Linked DNA regions of Homo sapiens: all the other regions are linked to region 1. Evidence: promoter capture Hi-C in 16 types of primary human blood cells and fetal thymus (Javierre and others, 2016). All regions are on one chromosome and are shown on one strand. Each heading gives the region's core, a stretch centred on a gene start or on the middle of the fragment in contact. The rest is flanking DNA. Distances are from core to core; before and after follow the strand shown. Region 1 holds the start of MMP17 (matrix metallopeptidase 17). Region 2 has its middle 25 kb from the start of ADGRD1. Region 3 overlaps ADGRD1 (adhesion G protein-coupled receptor D1). Region 4 overlaps ADGRD1 (adhesion G protein-coupled receptor D1).

Evidence for each region. Contacts are between HindIII fragments. The CHiCAGO score rates a contact against its expected background, and 5 or more counts as called.
Region 2: a fragment that was not itself captured here is called in contact with the fragment with the promoter of MMP17 in region 1 in 2 of 17 cell types (naive B cells and M2 macrophages); the score reaches 5.7 in naive B cells.
Region 3: a fragment that was not itself captured here is called in contact with the fragment with the promoter of MMP17 in region 1 in 1 of 17 cell types (M2 macrophages); the score reaches 5.9 in M2 macrophages.
Region 4: a fragment that was not itself captured here is called in contact with the fragment with the promoter of MMP17 in region 1 in 2 of 17 cell types (M2 macrophages and M1 macrophages); the score reaches 7.2 in M2 macrophages.

Annotation. Positions count from the first base shown.
Region 1 is chr12:131,825,682-131,830,689 of GRCh38, forward strand. MMP17 (matrix metallopeptidase 17) reads left to right here and starts at 2,712. Exons shown (of 10, transcript NM_016155.7): 1 at 2,712-2,972. The coding sequence starts at 2,814. RefSeq lists silencers at 2,577-2,706, 4,696-4,955 and an enhancer at 4,439-5,008. The HindIII fragment of the contact is 25,913 bases long and covers 1-5,008 here.
Region 2 is chr12:130,926,262-130,931,269 of GRCh38, forward strand. No RefSeq gene overlaps it. Among named protein-coding and RNA genes, the nearest start is that of ADGRD1, 25 kb to the right of the region's middle. The HindIII fragment of the contact is 2,981 bases long and covers 1,187-4,167 here.
Region 3 is chr12:130,977,741-130,982,748 of GRCh38, forward strand. It overlaps ADGRD1 (adhesion G protein-coupled receptor D1), which reads left to right. Exons shown (of 25, transcript NM_198827.5): 5 at 4,144-4,323. Among named protein-coding and RNA genes, the nearest start is that of ADGRD1-AS1, 14 kb to the right of the region's middle. RefSeq lists an enhancer at 1,806-2,796. The HindIII fragment of the contact is 3,950 bases long and covers 908-4,857 here.
Region 4 is chr12:131,077,738-131,082,745 of GRCh38, forward strand. All of the region lies in intron 14 of ADGRD1 (adhesion G protein-coupled receptor D1), which reads left to right. Among named protein-coding and RNA genes, the nearest start is that of LINC01257, 85 kb to the right of the region's middle. The HindIII fragment of the contact is 1,397 bases long and covers 2,341-3,737 here.

The sequences.
Region 1 (5,008 bases), core at 1,462-3,961:
TCTTTCTCTTTTTTTTCTCTCTCTCTCTTTCTTTCTCTCTCTCTCTTTCTTTCTTTCTCTCTCTCTCTTTCTTTCTTTCTTTTTCGTGGCAGGGTCTCGCTCTGTCTCGCCGGAATTCCTGTGCTTAAGTGATCCTTCCACTTCAGCCTCCCAAGTAGCTGGGACCACAGGCACACACCACCATGCACAGCTATTTTTATATTTTTAGTAGAAACATGGGTTTCGCCATATTCGTCAGTCTGGTCTCAAACTCCTGAGCTCAAGCGATCCGCCTGCAATTCAGCCTCCCAAAGTGCTGGGATTACAGGTGTGAGCCACCGTGCCGTCATGATTTTTCAGCGTTGCAAAGCTGATGGGAGAAGAGCGATTTCTTGCGGGGCTTGGATCTCAGCGGCTTTCAGATGTCCGAATGGGGTGGCAGGCTTGAAGGGAACACAGCAGCCATGGTGCCAGGCAGCTGCTTTGAGGAAGGTCAAATTCCCGATGTCTAACCAAGCATCTCCAGTTCACCAGCCGCCACCAGGCCTTTCTGGGGAGAACAGTGGCCTGCCTGTAAGGCCCTTCTCACATTTGTACATCCCAAGCCACTGTCGCCCAAGCTCCATAAACAAGCCATCTCCCTTCAATGCCAGCAAGCCCCGCGGTGAAGCCCCTTGCCAGCACCGAGCTACAGCCCCTCAACAGCGTCCTGTTCCAAGTCTCAGATGTGTATGAGCCCCATGATGCAGTGGGGGCACTGGCCGCGTTCCCTCTTCTGAGTCCTCGACCCAGCTTTGCCTGCCATCCACCCTCCCTTCCTCTGACTTCAGCACCTCTGATTTCCTGTAGAGAATCCCTTCCAGCCCAGGGCTTCAGCTCACTTCCCTGCCCCTGGCCCCACGATCAGGTCCTGACCCAGAATCCAGAGAGAGGTGGCCTTGGGACCATTGGTTGAGAAAGAGTCTGTCTCTGGCTGGGCCTGCTGAGGGGGAAGGATGCACAGGAGCTGCCCTGGGCCGTCTTTGCCCCACACAGAGATGGACTGAGAGAAACCGCGTTCTGACGCTGTTGCTGTGAGACTTGGTCCAGCCCTGCCTGACTTTGGCACACGCTAGGACGCCACCGTTTCCTGAGCCCATACCCATACGCTTCCTTTCCTTGACTACAGCCGCTTTGGCTGGGTCTCTGCTCTGGAAACCAGGTTGTCCTGATGCACTTGGTCAAAATCCCGGATGAGGCCAGGTGCGGTGGCTCACGCCTGTAATCCCAGCACTTTGGGAGGCCAAGGCGGGCTGATCACCTGAAGTCAGGAGTTCAAGACCAGCCTGGCCAACATGGTGAAACCCCGTCTCTACTAAAAATACAAAAATTAGCTGGGCACGGTTGTGCACGCTTGAAATCCCATCTACTCAGGAGGCTGAGACAGGAGAATCATTTGAATTTAGGAAGCAGAAATTACAGTGAGCCAAGATCGTGCCACTGCACTCCAGCCTGGGCAACAGAGCAAAAAAAAAAAAAAGAAAGAAAGAAAAAACAATCCGGGATGTCCTGTGAAAGTCCCCACCTCCTACAGGTGATCCCATCAGTCCGAACCAAGGTCATCTGAAGCAGGTGTGGAATCACCCTGTTCAGACCGGGCCAGGGAGGCTCTGAGGGCAGCAGGGACAGGATGGGCCAGAGTACCCAGGGAAGCGGGGGGGGGGGGGGGGGGGTGGTTGGGGGGAGTCGGCCCTCACAGGAGGGGAGGGGCACCACTTCCCTGAGACCAGTTCTGGTAAAAGGGGCCGAGCCTCAGTTTCCCTGTCCGTAGAATGAGACCTCAGTCCTGACAGTACCAGCTGCGATTTGGGGTGGTGGAGCAGGAGGGCCTGGGAAGGAGGGGAAGCCATGCTGTCCAGCACGAGGAGAAGCTGAATAAAGGCAAGGGTTACCCTTGAACCTCACCCCCTGCCCTCTCCCAAGATCTCCCACTCGGTGGGCAGCCTGTACGCAACTTGCACGAGTTCAATCCACACAAGCGCCTGCTCGGGCTCTGACCCTGGCTCTGCCGCTTGCCCGCTCCAGGACCTCCCATAAGTTACTTCATTTCTTTGGGCCTCAGTTTCTTTGTCTGCGAAATGGAAATCATAGTTTTCATCTCATAAATGTTGTAAGTAAATGAAATTATTTATGTAACTCCTGGGCATGTGCCAGGCACACGCTGCGCTCCAACAAACATTACAAGTTAACATTCTCGCTCCCAGGCCCGCAGGGACCGCAGAGCCTCCGCCGAGGACCCCAGCCCCCCCAACACCCGCCCTCGCCCTCCAGTCCCCCGCGCCCCCCAAGCCCCACCCTCCCTCTCCCGCGGTCCGCGGGCTCCACCAAGCGCCCACCTGCTGCGCTGCGGCGGCGGCTCCGGGGCCTGAACCCGGGTCTGAACCCGGGCCTCGGCGCCGTGGGGGGTGGACCCGGGAGCGCGGCCGGAGAGGGGAGTCAGGGTCAGCTCCCCGCAGGCGCCCCGACCCCCGCCTCCGCGCCCATCCCGCGCGTCCCCGCCGCCCCAAGAGCGTCCTAAGACACCCGGGGAAACGCCTTCCCTGTGATGCCGCGGACCCAGTCCCGTCGCGGACACGGCGGGGCGGGCGGGGGTGGCAGCGTCCGAGGCGGCGCGGGCCCTTTAAGGCGGCCGGCCTCGTTAGCATACATTTGCATGGCCCCGCCCCGCCGCTTGAGGCTGCCGCGCGGGGCTCAGTCCGGCGGGGGCGCCGCGGAGAGCGGAGGGCGCCGGGCTGCGGAACGCGAAGCGGAGGGCGCGGGACCCTGCACGCCGCCCGCGGGCCCATGTGAGCGCCATGCGGCGCCGCGCAGCCCGGGGACCCGGCCCGCCGCCCCCAGGGCCCGGACTCTCGCGGCTGCCGCTGCCGCTGCTGCTGCTGCTGGCGCTGGGGACCCGCGGGGGCTGCGCCGCGCCCGCACCCGCGCCGCGCGCCGAGGACCTCAGCCTGGGAGTGGTGAGCGCGCGGGCGGGACGGGCGCGGAGCTCCTGGGCCGGAGCCGGGGGTCTCCGCGGGCCGGGTGGCGGGGACCGGGAAGACCCCAGCAGTGCACGTCGGCGTCGCGCGGGAGCCCTGGCGCCCTGGACCCATTTCCTGGGTGGGGAGACTGAGGCAGGGACGCGGGCTGAGCGACCGGGCGAGCGCACGCGAGTCCTGGGGAGGCGCCGGCTGCCGTCCCGGCTCCGTGCGCTGGGAGCGCGCCGCAGCCGCAGGAGCCCGTGGAGTTGTGAGGGGGTCGCCCACCCGGAGCCCGGGTCGCCGGCTTGCAGCAGCCCCGGAGCAGCCGGGCTGGGCGAGAGCAGGCATCGCGGCCGCCCCGAGCTCTGCGCGCTGCGTGCGTTCCGGGTGGGAGTGGCGGGGGCAGGAGCACGCACCCACAAAGCGAGGAAGGGCAGGGGCTACGGAGTGGGGGCACCCCGAAAGCCTTGAGCCCCCGAGTTTGCTCGGTTGAGGGTGTTGGGGGCACAGGGATGCTGGCCCCCAGCTCCCCACTGGACAAGGACCTGGCCCTCAGCCTCCTTCCCCTCCACCCCAGGTCGGCCAGGCTGGCCCTGCCTTGCCCTGGTACAGTGCTGAGCCGGGGGCGCGGGGAGAGCCTTCCTCACTCCACACCCAGTAGCTGTCCCCAGCTCAGCTTAGAAACCCTGCCTGGGGGCAGCGACGTGGCCTCTTCCTACAGCCCCCTCCCCTGTTCCGCAGCCGGGACTCGCGTCTCCTGTGGACCCGGAAGATTTAGAGCACACGTCGTGGGGTCAGCGCCCCCCCGCTGGGGCGGCCGGGTGAACTCCCGCTGGGTTCGTTGGTTCCTTCTGAGGCTCCTGCCCCACCGCTGCCTTCAATGGACTCCTACCCAGGGAGTCGGGCCAGGAGCCGAGGCCTCCCCGCCCCACACAAGTACTCGGCCTGGCCCTCGTCCGCGGACAGTCTCCCAGTGGGGTCCTGGCAGGGCCCCTCGCCCAGCGCAGTGGACATTCAGGAGCTCCAAAACCTTGGGGTCCAAGCAAGTCAGCGCAGGTGTATTTCAGGCAGTCGAGGCATATGGAGGGGCCACTTGGGTGGCACCCGCAGCCCCTGTGGTTGGCAGGACTTGGCCAGGGGGTCTGGATGGGAAGCCGATTTGGCCACCGTTTGCCCCAGGCCCCGAAGCCATCTGGGAGGGTGCTGGCCACTGTCCCTGCTGCCCGCGTCCAGGTGCCTGCAGGTCCCCACAGTGGCTTCCTTCCAGCCAGGCAGCCTGTGAACTTGGGGTGCCCCCCTCCACCTCCTCAAGACCCTTTTGTAGGTGCGGATCTCCCGGATCCCCCACTGAGAATCACGCCCTGGGGGCCTGGGGTCTCCAGCTGTGGAGGGAGGTGAACCCAGGCCCGCCTTCCAGGTCCGAGGGTGCCGCAGAAGGGGCCGGGGCAATGCCAGGGAAGGACTCAAGGTGGGGCCCACACACTCAGGAGGATGGACCCCCGGCCGAGCCATGTTGGCTGATCAGACCCAGTGCGGTTTGGAAGTTTCTCGCCACCCACCTGCCCCCCTGCCCGGAGAGAGTGGGTCAGGCGCCCTCCTCTCGGCTGGTACCTGCGCCTCGGTCTCTCCTGGCACCCCGGGGGTCACCCGCCCCGCGCCCTGCGACAGCACCGAGCGGAGGATGTGGCTCCCCAGCCTGGCCGGGGGCAGTGAGTGGGGCCCCGGTGTCCAGCCGGAGAGGGAGGACGCTGCGGGCAGCCCCCTGCCTGGAGCCCCGCTCCGTGTCGGGCCCGGCCTGGCGTGGAGCCTCCGTCCTGCCGCGGCTTCCTGCTCACACTGGCGGTGCGGGGCGTCCTCTGCTGGCCCTCGGGGAACCGCGGGCCGAGCTCAGGCCCAGGGGCGGGCGGCTTCCCCGCGGGGAGGGACGAGGAGGCCGGGATCTGGGCGGGAGCGGGGACTCCTCCTCCGCCCGCTCGCCGGAGGCGCTCCCGGAGTGGACTGATATTCAGGTCTGGGCGCCAGGGACGAGAAGT
Region 2 (5,008 bases), core at 1,427-3,926, 900 kb before region 1:
GATCACAAGGTCAAGAGATAGAGATCATCCTGGACAACATGGTAAAACCCCGTCTCTACTAAAAATACAAAAATTAGCTGGGCATAGTGGTGCACGCCTGTAGTCCCAGCTACTCGGGAGGCTGAGGCAGGAGAATCGCTTGCACCCGGGAGGCAGAGGTTGCAGTGAGCCGAGATCGCACCACTGCACTCCAGCCTGGGCAACAAGAGTGAAACTCCATCTAAAAAAAAAAAAGAATTTTTATTATTTAAGTCATTGGCTGGATACATTCTTCTTGTGAAGATGTAAAATGTCGCAACAAGGCTAGAGAGCTCTTTTTTTAAACTTTATTAATTTATTTGAGACAGGGTCTTTCTCTGTCACACAGGCTGCAGTGCCAGTGGCACGATCTTGGCTCACTGTATCTTCAACCTCCCAGGCTCAAGCGATCCTCCTGCCTCAGCCTCCTGAGTAGCTGTGATTACAGCTACTCAGCTAATTACCACCACACCCAGCTAATTTTTCTATTTTTATTAGCGATGAGGTCTCACTTTGTTGCCCAGGCTGGTCTCAAATTGCTCGCCTCAAGTGACCCTCCCGCCTTGGCCTCCCAAAATGCTGGGATTACAAGCATGAGCCACTGCACCTGGCCTTAATTTTTTTTTAAGACAATGTCTTACTCTGTCACCAAGGCTGGAGTGCAGTAGCTCAATCTCAGTTCACTACAGCCCTGAACTCCTGGGCTCAAGTGATCCTCCCACCTCAGCCTCCTAAGCAGCTGGGACTGTAGAATAGTCCCAGGTACACCCCTGGGCAGTAAAGACCTGTGACTTCTGGCCCTTCTCTCCATTCTCCAGAAGTATATTCTCTTTTGGTTTGCATCCTATCCTTCCAGAACTTTCCCTATGCCTTTGCATAATATGTACCCAGATGTCATTTATGTATATGCTGTACGTAAATAATATCGCATGATCTTAATAGTTCTGTAACTTGTTTCTTTTGTTTTGTTTTTGTTTTCATGTGGCATGTCTTGGAACTCTTCCCATGTTAGTGGCGTGTATTCTATATACTGCCACCCAGGATTGAAAAATATTAATCAGGTTATTTAGGCCACTCTAAAGCTTTTGGAGAATTCTAGAGCCTCAAATTCATACATTTTGACAACTTGCTTCCTTTACCTGGCAATAGGTCATCTTGAATTTCTCCAAGCTTCCTAAAATCCCCATTATTTTAGGAATTTTCCCCTAAATATCTGCAGCAAGTCAGAGTTCCTTCTTGGAAAAATGGCCGCCTTCTCCCCTATGTGGACCCCCTCTTCTACATATTCACTTGCTTGAATTAATGAGTTGCTATTTTCTATTCTATTCCTTACTAACCAACAAGAAAATGATTATGATTTCTCTATCACGTTTGTCAGAAAACTGGTCTAATGAGGCCTGGCACAGTGGCTCAAACCTGTAATCCCAGCATTTTGGGAGGCTGAGGTGGGAGGATCACTTGAGTCCAGGAGTTTGAGACCAGCCCTGTGAACAACATAGCCAGACCCTGTCTCTACAAATTAAAAAATTTGTAGAGACAGGAGGTCGAGGCTACAGCGAGCCATGATCACACCACTGCACTCCAGCCTGGGCGAAACAGCAAGATCCTGTCTCAAAAAAGTAATAATAGGCCAGGCGTGGTGGCTCATGCCTGTAATCCCAGCACTTTGGAAGGCAGAGGCGGGTAGATCACTTGAGGTCAGGAGTTCGAGACCAGCCTGGGAAAGATAGTGAGACCCCTGTCTCTACAAAAAATAAAAGAATTAGCTGGGTGTGGTAGTGCACGCCTGTGGTCCTGGCTACTGGGGAGGCTAAGGTGGAAGGATTCTTTGAACCCAGAAGGTTGAGGCTGCAGTGAGCTGTGATTGTACCATTGCACTCCAGCCTTGGTGACAGGAGACCCTGTTTCAAAAAAGAAAAGAAAAAAAGAGAAAAGAAAAGAAAAGCTGGTCTAATGACATAATTAAGACAAGTCAGAGAGTGACTCCAGGCTTGGCACTATTTGTAAACATCCGCAGCAAGGAAAGGGTCTGAATAGAAGGGCAAAGCTGAACCCCAGGATGTCACCTGGATCCAGCTGTGCCTGCAGCCAGCATCACCACTGGCCTTTCCTTCCACGGACCAGTTTGTTTTCCTTCTGCTTCTATCAGATGGGTTGGTAACTGACATAGCCCTGACAGACAGGGCCGTAGTGTCAGATCCCATTGCTGTCTTCTCATGCCTCTTTCCGGTTTCAGCATCTGCCAGGAGCTTCTGTTTTTCCTTCTTGGATGCTCTGCCTCTGTTCTCTATTTATTCCGACCCTGCAAAGAACCAAAAACGTCACAATCTGTACACAGCGTAAATCATTACTTGTCTGACTGCATTCATGGTTACTGTGTGTCCTTGTGTATTAGTTCATATTTGGCTTAGGTAACACAGCAAAACACACACACACAGAAAACAACAAACCCAGCAATGCTTCGTATTTATGCAGCAATAGCATCACTTATTTGGCAACACATTTTTGCCATGGTTTTAACTCTAGTTTGTGGGGAGTGGCATATGGAGAAGTTTCACTCCTTCCTGAGTTTTCTTGTACTTGTCATTCTTGAGTTCCTGCCAAAAGTTTACATCTAATTGCCCCGACGTCATCCTTCCTTCCCCTCAAATAGAAAAAACAATGAGTCCTGGAATTTTTTTTTTTTTTTAAACAGGGTCTTGCTTTATCGCCCAGGCTGGAGTGCAGTGGTGCGATCTCGGCTCACTGCAACCTCCCTCTCCTGGGCTCAAGCGATCCTCCTGCCTCAGCCTCCCAAGTAGCTGGGACTACAGGTGCATGCAACCATGCCTGGCTAATTTTTATATTTTTAGTAGAGACGGGGTTTTGCCATGTTGCACAAGCTGGATGTAAATTCTTACAAACCTGTTCCCTGCACATTTATTTTCTCATTCCACACGACTGTCAAATTGGAAATTCTCCCAAGATGCTTCTGACTGTATCAGGCAGAGTGGAGTGTGAGTGGTGCTGTTTCTCTCTTCACGAGGACACGGCTGGGTGTCTTGGCCACCCATTTTTATTCTTTGTTACTGCGACCGAGGAACAGGGACTATTGTCAAAAAGACTTGAGCAAGGTCGGACTAGGAAGGTTTTTTTTTTTTTTTCCATGGGTTAAAGAAAGAAACATTCTCTTGAAGATGCTATGAGATGGGAAGGTTTCCAAAGCCTTTGAATAGCTGCACATGAACTCATCATAAAAACGTAAAAATAATCCTCTTTGTGGTGCACGTGATTGTGAGCCTCTGTGTCTGTCTGGGATGCGAGTGTGAGAGAATTGAGTTAGAGGTGACCACAGGTCACGTGTCTGGTGATGATAATGTCTTCACGGACCACAGAATATAATATCAAGGTAATGAGAAACTCTACTGTGCACTTCTTTGTTATAAAATATTTTTCTTTCAGAATGTTTAGACATACGGAAAGGACGTGGTGGAGTGGTTAAGAACGCAGGTGCTGGAGTGAGGCTCCCTGCATTGGAACCTTTAATCCTCCACTCACAAACTGGCCTTGGGGAACCTACTTTACCTCTCAGAACTTCTGTTTCCTCATCTTTAAAAGAAGGTTTTAAAAATAGTGGCTCACTCTACAAAAGAATTTTAAAAAATTCCCTGGGCATGGTTGCACATGCTTGTAGTCCCAGCTACTTGGGAGGCTGAGGCAGGAGTATGACTGGAGCTCAGGAGATCAAAGCCGCTCTGAACTGTGGTCACACCACTACACTCCAGCGGGGGTGACAGAGCAAGACCTGGTCTCCAAAAAGTAAAAATAAAATAGCATAAACTTCCTAGGGTTGTCCTAAGGAATCAGCAGATGCCTGCAGGTTGGCACTCGGGGCAGGGTTGGCACAGGGGGCTGCCCCACCAGTGATCACTTTGAGGATGAGGATGACATTGTCTCTGATCATGAGATGAAGATGGTGAAGGAAGGGGATGGTGATTTAACCTTTATTAAGACTTGGCCCCACTGGACAGCCTGCCTGACTGAGGAGTCTCTCTCTCTATAAATTCAGAGACACAGAGCCTAAGAGCAGTCTAAAAGTATGCTCGTTATTAAAAATCTCAAAAAGGTCATGGTTTCAGGTGTGCGTTCTCATCTTCCAGGATGAGCTAAAGCTTCCTCATTCCATGCTTCCTCTGTGGCACTTACAGGTCTGGGTGTGCTCAGTCCTCTGGATGTTCAGCTCAGCAGCTGCACAGCTCAAGGTTATTTTTCTGCCAGAGGGAAACAAGGTGGGCTGCAGACACAGTTCTGATTTTGGAGCAGGGTCGTGTGCAAGGGTCATCCATTCCCACTCATTTACTGGCTGTTCCTGCAGGTCTCAATGAGACGTGTGGCTGGCTGCACAGTAGCTGCCAACTGGCTCTGCTGGTTATAATCAATGGTTCAGCCTTCTCTCTCTCTTTCTTTCTTTCTTTTTTTTTTTTGAGACGGAATCTCACTCTTGTTGCCCAGGCTGGAGTGCACTGGTGCGATCTTGGCTCACTGCAACCTCCGTTTCCTGGGTTCAAGCAATTCTTCTGCCTCAGCCTCCCAAGTAGCTGGGATTACAGGTGCACATCACCACACCTGGCTAATTTTGTACTTTTAGTAGAGACAGGGTTTCTCCATGTTGGTCAGGCTGGTCTCAAACTCCCGACCTCAGGTGATCCACCTGCCTCGGTCTCCCAAAGTGCTGGGATTACAGGCGCGAACCACCTTGCCTGGCCTCTCTTTCTCTCTCACACACAACATCTTTCCCAGGGCTTTTTACTCCTTAGAAATACTTTATTCTGATTTTTGTAAATAATTTTGAAAAGATTTTCCTGAAATTGTCAGTGTACAGGTTGGGAGTCCCAGTTCTCAAAGGGATTTTGGCAAATCCATCACCCATAACAGGATATGATCGGGATCCTAGGCCAAAGGCTGTCAGAAGAATGTGCTGTTCTGTAGCTTAATATGATTCATGTAAATA
Region 3 (5,008 bases), core at 1,633-4,132, 850 kb before region 1:
TGTGTGGTCTGTGGTGACTGGGGTGTGGGTACAGACGCCAGGCGGGCCCGCATGCCTGTATAACCTCGCGCCCTCCTGGGCCGCTGCTTTGTTGGCATGTGTTGATCATGCTCTTGCAGGGTGCTGAGTCTGTGGGCCTGGGAAGGGCAGCTGCATGCATGATCTCCAAGGGAAGGGCGGGAGCCACAGCACAGTGATTACAAACGCAGACTCCAGATCCAGGCTGCCTGGGTTCAAATCCTGACTCGTCCCAGACCAGCTGTGTGGCCTTGGGCAAGTTACCGCACCTCCCTGTGCTTCAGTTTTCTCCCCTGTGAAATGGGGACAGTAATGACCCCTAGTTCACAGGTTGTTGGGAGGATTTAACCTCAGCCCATATAAGTTCTCCTCACCTGCTAGAAATCATCCTTTGTCTTATGCCGTGGTCTCTACATATGAAGGGAATTAACTTCTCATCTAGTAAATCTGTGACAAATATTCTTTCCCTGGATGGTTGTCTGTCTTTGAGTTTGTTACGGTAATTTTTTTTGCCTTGCAGAATATTATATTTATGCACTTAAATTTATTAGTCTTTTCTTATGACTCCTAGATTTTTATTTTTCCTTTTTTTGTCTTGTCAAAAAAGATCTTTCCTCATTTTATTTTTTGGATGTTTTAGGATTCAGTGCTTATAACAAGAAAAAATTATCAAATTAGTTTGTCAATATTGTGCTTGTTTCTTTTTCCTTCAGATTTTTCCTTGTTGTATTGATGGCCCAACTCCATGAGGCAAAGTTCCTTAAAAGGCTAATATGGAAGGCACATTGTGAATTTGTTATGACTCTATGAAGACGTGAATTGATACTTAAATATAAGCTGTTGCTCAGGTAGAAGTCATTGTTTTGTGCGTTGAGTTAACTAAATGAAAAGCTTGGTTACCGGCACCATGGATGGCCTTCGATCTACCCTTACCTAACACCACATGGAATTTTTTTATTTTTATTTTTCTTCCTGAACAGAAAGACATTTGGCCAAGACAGGCTCATTTTGAATTGAGTGAAAGAAATTTTAAAATGCAGCAAAGTTTTTGGAAAAAATTAACTTCCATGAATCCTACTGGGAATTTGTTTCATAACAAAAATTTCACAACGCACTGTGCTGACTTCCTTGTGAAACGGGTTGTTTCTGAGTGTGCAGGGAAGTGGCGGGAGGCTTGGGGGTTTGTCCTGGCTTCTGTACCCCTCAGCGCCCAAGGCAGGGAAGTGGCGGGAGGCTCGGGGGGTTGTCCTGGCTTCTGTACCCCTCAGCGCCCAAGGCAGGTGTTGCAGGAAGCCCGTTCATGAGGTGGGTGTGGGTGGTGCCAGCCAGGTCTGGGGACACCAGCGTCAGCTGCCCCAGGCCTCTGTGCAACCCCCACAGTCGCACCCTTTTGCGGTAACCCACATTACTGGGCACTCGGGAAGGCTGTTTTCTTTCCCAGGAGCCCTAAGGACAGATGCCGCAGGGCTTGGAGTTGTACCCCGTAGCCTCTCAGAGGTCCAGAAAGGTCCAGGCCTCTTCCAATTTTTTTGAGGTTCTTCTTCTCTTAAAAAATAAAATGGGGAAATTCCATACCAGGGTTATAAAATGTATGCTGTGTTTTTCCTGAATCCTGCGAGGGCTTTGAACTCACAAAGGTATAGTTGTCTTGATATATTGTCACAAGACATTTGAAGGACTTCTAACAGATATGTTAATTCATAAGGCATCACAGAAAGCATGGTGGGCAATGAGACACTGCCTTATACACGAATGACAAATGTCTTCTTTGAATTCAGTGACTCTCTAAGACTGTGTCCATAACCTCATGTGAAGGTAAGGTCTAAAGTCTAAATTTGGCACCATTTATAGAAATAAAGCCCAGGGCAAATATCCTTCTGCCTCTCCCCTGCACCCACCGTCCCATCATGGGCCTCTTTGGACCAGTTCTGGGCACGTGTTCTCTCTCAGCACCACTGAACCCTCTTACCCATGTGCCTGGGCCAGGCTTGGCGGGGGTGAGGCAGCTGGATGTATTTCCAGCTGTCAGGGGCAGAATCCAGACAGGCAGCTAGTGTCTCACACACACACACACACACACACACACACACACACACACACACACTGGAGTTTACACACAAAGAAGGGCCAGGTGGGCAGATGCTACTGGAGGCAGAGAAGTGGAATAGAGACAACCAGAGCTCCAAAATGCAACGCCAGAGAGGCCCAAGCTCCACAGAGCCTCCAGCCAGGCCCTGCCCTGACTTCCCCTTCAGCAGAGAGCCCGGCCCCCAGACCAGTGGGTGTGAGTGCAGAACAGCGGTCGGGGTGGGTGCGGGGCATGCTCAGGAGCTGGGCTTTTGCGGTTCCTCTTTTTTTTTTTTTGAGACGGAGTCTCGCTCTGTCGCCCAGGCTGGAGTGCAGTGGCACAATCTCGGCTCACTGCAAGCTCTGCCTCCCGGGTTCACGCCATTCTCCTGCCTCAGCCTCCTGAGCAGCTGGGACGACAGGCACCTGCCACCACGCCTGGCTAATTTTTTGTATTTTTAGTAGAGACGGGGTTTCACCATGTTAGTAAAGATGGTCTCGATCTCCTGACCTCATGATCCACCCGCCTCGGCCTCCCTAAGTGCTGGGATTACAGGCGTGAGCCACCATGCCTGGACCCTCTTTTTTTTGAGACAGAGTCTTGCTCTGTTGCCCAGGCTGGAGTGCAATGGCGTGGTCTCGGCTCACTGCAACCTCTGCCTCCGTGGTTCAAACAATTCTCCTGCCTCAGCCTCCTGAGTAGCTGGGACTACAGGTGCATGCCACCACACCCGGCCAATTTTTATATTTTTAGTAGAGACGGCATTTCACTATGCTGGCCAGGCTGGTCTCAAACTCCTGACCTCAGGTGATCCACTTGCCTCGGCCTCCCAAAGTGCTGGGATTACAGGCGTGAGCCACCGCGCCCGGCCTGCAGTTCCTCTTATAGTAAAAACATGGAGAAATCCCACATGAGGATCATAAAAATTACATTGTTTTTCCATGTTTACATTGATCACAGTAGGACTTTGCACCCACAAAGGTACAATATCTAATTGTCATAATTTACTGTAATATACTGCCACAACACATTTGAGGTATGTCCTATCTGCTGCTGGTGGCGGAGGCAACATGAACTAATGAGCCAGCTCATTCATGCTAACATGCGTCGCTCAGACCATTTAGTCCAGGTGCAATCCCTCCTCCCCCGCAGCGTGGGCCTGGGGTCAGGACTTACCACGAATGTGCAGACTAGAGTCTTGAAAAAGGTTTCAGCTGCTGCCCCCTCTGTATCCAACTGCGGGAAATGAACAATTGAAGATATCAACAACCTTAAAAGTGTGCTTCCCTTTGGCAAGAAATGCCCTCTTGGGAATGTATCCTAAAGGCATATAGTCTGAGATATGCAAAAGAATTTGCTTCAAGTTCTGTTTGAAAATTTCTTCAAAAAGTGGAAGAAAACCTTAAGATCCAGCAACAGGGGATTGCTGTTTAAAAAAAAGACTGTGGTGCTTGTTTAGAATGCGCCGCTGTGCAGACATAAAAGTGACAACGTGACAGTGTATTTATGGACATCGGAGGAAGTTCACGGTGGAGTAAACTTTATAGAAATGTTGTTTATAAACCAGTGTGCCTGAGATGGTTCGTGTCTTTGTAAAATCTATTTATAGAAGAGGCTTAGGAAGGAGCCGCCCTAACCACATTTCTGGAGGAATAGGAGAGAAACCTGGAGGGTGTAGGTCTTCACATTTGCATGATCCCGGGGAGTGGGGGCGGGGAACTGCCTGGGGCTGCAGCGATCTTCATCAGTCACTGGTGACCTTGAGTGAATGAGCCTCAGTTCCTTCATCTGTATAGTGGGGATGAAGCAGGATTTTTGTACTTTTTAAAAGGCGAGAATTCATTTCAAACTCCTAGAAAAGTGCCTGGCACTGTGTGAGCCCTTAATAAACATGAGCAAATATCACTGTCTGGATTTTCTGAACTGAACATACACTGCCTTTAGAATGGGGACAAAATGCTTTTCGAATGAAAAATAAAAAGCAAAGAGAACCATGTGCTTGCGAGAAGTCAAGTCCCCTGCTCTCTGTGAATAACTGATCTTGTGACTTTCCTCAGGGGTCACGTTTTCTTTTTTCTGGAAGACACAAGGAGAACAGTCTAGACCAATCCCTTCTGCGTATGGGGGACAGGTCATCTCCAATGGGTTCAAAGTCTGCTCCAGCGGTGGCAGAGGCTCTGTGGAGCTGTATACGCGGGACAATTCCATGACATGGGAGGCCTCCTTCAGCCCCCCAGGTGAGTGACAGCATCGGTCCCGGGAGGCTCTGCCTGGAGGAGTGGAGTCTTCTCTGAGAATGGACGCTGAGAAGCCCAACGCAGCCCAAGGAGCCCAGGGATGCTGCTGCCTCCTGGCACCCGAGCTCCTTTCCTTTAAGGGTTGTTGGGGAGGTGCATGGGGAGAGGCAAGGAGGTGCCCTTGGTAAGCCGCCTTTGGTTGGTGCAGAGCCTGGGCTCCGTCTGCCCGTGCACTGTGTGCCTGCTGTAGGTTACCTGACCACACTGACCTCAGTGATCACACCTGTGATGTGCAGATGATATTGACAGTACTTACCTCACGGTTTCCAGGACATTAAGCTGAAGATATGGTGTGCAAAGTGCAAGCAGTGGTTACATTTCTCCTTCTTTTCCTTCTCATTTTCCCTCTTCCTCCTCATCTGCCTCCTTTTTCTCTCACAGTCTTTGTCTCTTCCTCTTTCTCTTCCTCCCCCTCCTCTTCTTCCTTCTTCTTAGTGGTATAGACTTGAAATTGTTTAAAGCATGACGAGAAGAAGCTTTTGGAGAGAGAGGCTGAAGAATCGGGGAGCAGAGGAAGGGGCTAGGGGAGAGCGCATGAAGCACTGGACTGTGCGTGGTCTTGGAGGAGGGAGGGGCCCTGGATGTGTGGGAAGAGAACAGGAGTCCCTGCACATTGGCTGAGTTT
Region 4 (5,008 bases), core at 1,789-4,288, 750 kb before region 1:
TTTTGTTTTTGTTTTTTTGAGACAGGGTCTCACTCTGTCACCCAGGCTGGAGTGCAGTGGTGTGATCTTAGCTCAATGTAGTCTGAAACTCCTGGGCTCAAGCAATCCTTCCGCCTCTCAAAGTGCCTCTCAAAGTCCTGGGACTACAGGTGTGAGTCACTGTGCCTGGCTATGGCTAGATTATTATATGAACTGTCCCAATGTTTAAAACACTGCACAGGCAGCTGGAACACATCTGGGACATCCAGTTCACACCCTGCCTAGTGGCCCATCACCCTGCATGTTGTCAGGGCTCCCCAACACCTGGGCATCTTCCTGTGCCTGGACTCACTTCCCCAGCTCCCTCCTCCTGCTGCTTCAGGGCAGGATCCACACAGGCTGTGCCACCTCTGCTGGTATGGTCCCCGTCAGAGAAAGCGTCTCTGCTCCCTGCACCCAGAGGGCCAGGAGATTGCAAGACGCTGAGCTGGGGGTGCAGCAGCAGGTCGGCATAATCTCCCTTTATCTCTGTTCTGTGAACAGCGAGGAAAGTGCAGCCCAGCTCCTGTCACCTCCAGCAAACACTGCTTACATTTTTGACCCCCGGGATGCCTCACTCTGGCTATGGCCGTCGGCGTCTGGCTATGACCGTTGGCGTCATGCCTCTGCAATGTGGATTGATGCTCTGTAATTTCAGTGATTTTGCCCTGGTCAGGCTCAGCAGGTTGCAGCTCTTTTTCCTTTATTTGTAAATTGTGAAAATTTGGAAGCATGTGCTCCTAGAAATAGTTATTCCAATTCCGGGGCACTGTTTGGAGAAAAAAATTATGACTAGAAAACGGGATGGGATTTGGTAAGAACTAAATTGGCATGTTGATTCTTATTTTTGAAGGAATTTTAAGAACATAGAAAAGTACGGAGAATAATATAACAAATGCAGGTACCCATTGCCCCAAATTTATAGTTATTAGCATGTTTATATTTTTGTATTTTTAAGAATGAAACAACTAAAACATCACAGATGATGTTAACGAACCCTCCACCTCCTTCTGTTCTTTTCCCTCAATTCCTAGAGGCAGCCACCATCATGAATATAGTATCTGTATCCTTCCTGTCCATTGTGCAATTATTACTTATTATTATATAATTGATATTCAGAAAAATCCACACTTGTAGATGATTGTACAGTTCTGTGAGTTTTGACAAATGAATACAGTTGTGCAACCACCGTAATCAGGATTAGAACAATCCATCACCCTCCAAGATGCCCCCGTGTCTGTTTGCAGTCATCCCTTCCTCTCACGTCCGGCTCCTGCAAGCACCGATTTGTCTTCTGTTCCTATATAGTTTTGCTTCTGCCAGAGTGTGCATAGATGGAATCATGGCGCAGGAAGCCTTTTGGAGTCTAGCCTCTTTAATTTTGCATAGTGTGTTGAGCGTCACCACACATGTATTGTTGGATATATCAACATCTTGTTTTCACATTTCACTGCTGAGGGGGTATTCCGTTACATGGATGTACCGTAGTTTATTTATCTTCTCCCGAGTAGAGGAACATTTGGGTAGTTTTCAGAGTGGGATCATTATGATTAAAGCTGGAAGTTTCACCAGCTTTGCTTTTGTGGGGTAAACCACACTTGGTCATGATGTATTATCTTTTTGTATACTGCTAAATCTAATTGGCTACAGTTGTTGAGAATTTTTGTGTCTACGTGCATGTTGGATATTGGTCTGCAGTTTTCTTTTTTTGGTAATGTCTTTGTTTTTATATCGAGGTAATGATACCTTTATAAAAGTTACATTTTGGGATGCACTTTGGAATAGTCTGTATAGAATTGATATTATTTCTTCCATTTTAGTAGAATTCACCATGAAGTCACCTGAGCCTTCATTTTCAATGTTGGCAGGTTTTCAACTACACATTCAGTTTCTTTTATGGATGCAGGACTATGTAGGTCGTCTACTTCTTTTTAAATAAGTTCAAGCAGTTTATGTTTTTTTGAAATATTCATCAATTTCATCAAAGTTGTTTAATTTATAGGCACAGAGTTTTTTGTGGTATTCCGTTGTTAGCCTTTTTCATGCCTGAAGGGTCTGTGGTGATGTTCCCATTTCACTTTTTTATCTATAATCTGTGTCTTCTTTTTTCTGAGTCACTCTTACTATAGGTTTATTAATTTTATTGATATTTTTCCAAAGATATAACTTTTGGCTTCATTGATTTTTCTCTCTTGTGTTTCTGTTGTCAATTTCATTGGCTTATCCTCTTTGTCTTTAATTTACTTCCTTCAGCTTTCTTTGAGTTTAATTTGCTCTTCATTTTAAAAGTTCTTAAAATGTAGGTTTAGGTTATTACTATGAAGCTTTATTATTTTCTAATATAAACATTTAATGCTATATTTTTTCTGTGAGCACTGATCTAGCTGCATTGCACACATTTTGATATGTTTTTATTTTGATTAAATTTAAAATATTTTCTAATTTTCCTTGTGACTTCCTCTTCAACCTCTTCAACCTATGTGTTATTTTGAAGTGTGTAGTTTAATTCCAAATAGTTGGGAATTTTCCAGAGAGCTTTCTGCTGTTGATTTGTAAATAGTTTTTTTATGATCAGAAAATATTCTTTGTATAATTTTAGTTCTTTTAAATTTGTTAAAAGTTTTTATGACACCCCCATATATGTTCAGTCTTTGATGAAAGTCCCATGTGCACTTGAAAAAAAGTATATTCTTGGTGGAGTGTTCTATAAATGTCAATTACACCAAGTCGATTGATAGTTAAGATTATGTCTTCTATATTCTTACTACTACTTTTCTGTCAACTTGTTCTGTCAATTAAAGAGAGAGGAGTGTGAATTCTCCAATTTTAGTGGTGGATTTACCTATGTCTACTTCTAGTTTTATTCTTTTTTTTATGTTTTTTGAGACAGAGTCTCGCTCTGTAACCCAGGCTGGAGTGCAGTGGCATGGTCTCGGCTCACTGCAAGCTCCGCCTCCCAGGTTCACGCCGTTCTCCTGCCTCAGCCTCCCGAGTAGCTGGGACTACAGGCGCCCGCCACCACGCCCGGCTAATTTTTTGTATTTTTAGTAGAGACGGGGTTTCACCGTGTTAGCCAGGATGGTCTCGATCTCCTGACCTCGTGATCCGCCCGCCTCGGCCTCCCAAAGTGCTGGGATTACAGGCGTGAGCCACTGCACCCGGCCTAGTTTTATGAATTTTTCTTTAATGAATTTTGAAGTTCTGTTATTAGGTGCATGTATGTTTAGGATTGTTATGTCTTCTTGGAAGATTAGCCCTTTTATCATTACATAATGTCCCTCTTTACCCTGGGAAATATGCGTTACTTTGAAGTCTACTTAGTTTAATTTAGATAAAACTACTCTAGCTTTGTTGATTAGTGTTTGAGTGCTGTATCTTTTCCCATAATTTAACTTTTATCTTATTTATATATTTATATTTAAAGTGAGTTTCTTTTAGACTGCATGTAGCTGGGTCGTGTCTTTTCTTTAATCCAGTCCTAAAATTTCTGTTTTTAATTGACATGTTTAGACAATTTATATTTCATGTAATCATTGGTGTGGCTGGATTAAAATCTACCATTTTGCTAGATGTCTTCTAACTTTTCTATCTTTTTAAAATGTTGTCTTTTTCTGACTTCATTTGGATTGTTGGATATCTTTTATGATGCTATTTTATCTCTACTATAAATGATTTCTAATGTATACATCCTTTTAACTTTTTTGATAGTGGTTGACCTAAGCTTACAGTGTATATATGTCTAATTCATTCATGCCTGCCTTCAAGTACTATGATATCATTCCAAATATATTCTAAGACATTGTAACAATAGGTTCACACTTCCTCCTGCCCGTTCTGTGTGCTGTTGTTGTAGTACATTTCACCTTTGTACAGACACCATAAACGCAATGCATTGCTAGTATTTTTTCCCCCGGATAATGAGTTATCTTCTAGAGCAATTAAAATTAAGACAATAATAATTGCCTGTTTACCTTCACTTATTCCACTTCCAGCTGTTCTATTTCTTTGTGTAGATTTTTGTCTAGTATCATACTCCTTTAACTCTTCTTGCAGTTCTGGTCCACTGGCAATAGATTCAGTTACCATTTGAAAAAGTATTCTCTTTTAGTCTTGAAAGATTTTCATTGGGCTTAGAATTCTGGGCCACTTTTTTTCTAGACTGATACTTTAAGAAATTATACAAGTAATATATCAATATATTATTTTGTTCAAAAGTAAAACATTATAGAAAAGCAAGTGTTCCCTTTGATCTTTACCTCTTATCCTGATCTCCACCCCTTTCCCCAGTAATAACCACGGTGGGAGGGTTTTTTATGTGTTTTTTCAATAATTTATATATAATTTATATTTATAATCATAGGAAATATATGGTGTTGCTTAATTCAATGTGTCTTCCATCCTTCCTCCACCTTTTGTTTCTGTGTTTTGCCTGTGTGGACACACATGTTTTTTACCGTATTTATGCATGTTACATTTTATGTATGCATGACTGAACATTTTTCTGTTTAGATGCAGACTTCCTGGGTCATAGGGCCGTACATATCTTTAATGCTATTGATACTGCTTCATCTGGCTTCCATAGCAGATTTATTTATGCACAAGCTGCAAGCCTGCCTCTTTGTTTTCGCTGAGTCCCTGGGAAGTAGATCTTCATTGATGCCACTGAAGGCTCTACTCCTCTGGCTAACTAGGTCATCGTCACACCTTTGCAGCTCCATCTGAGCGATGTGACTTTCATATTGTTTAGCTTACCCTTTGTGTAAGCAGAAGGGGCAGCTCATACCCGTGGCTACGTTCACCTAATCCAATGCCTGTTAATGTTCAGGCCCCCCCCTCAAATTGAAGTATGGTACTTATGCAGCCAATTGACAGACAAAGGCGCAATATATAACACAACAGCTGGTTTTTGCTGACTCCCTCCAAGGTCCTGGGAAAATTAGATCAAAAGGGGTGGGGAGGGAGAGGAGGAGGACATGACCCTGTCTTTAAG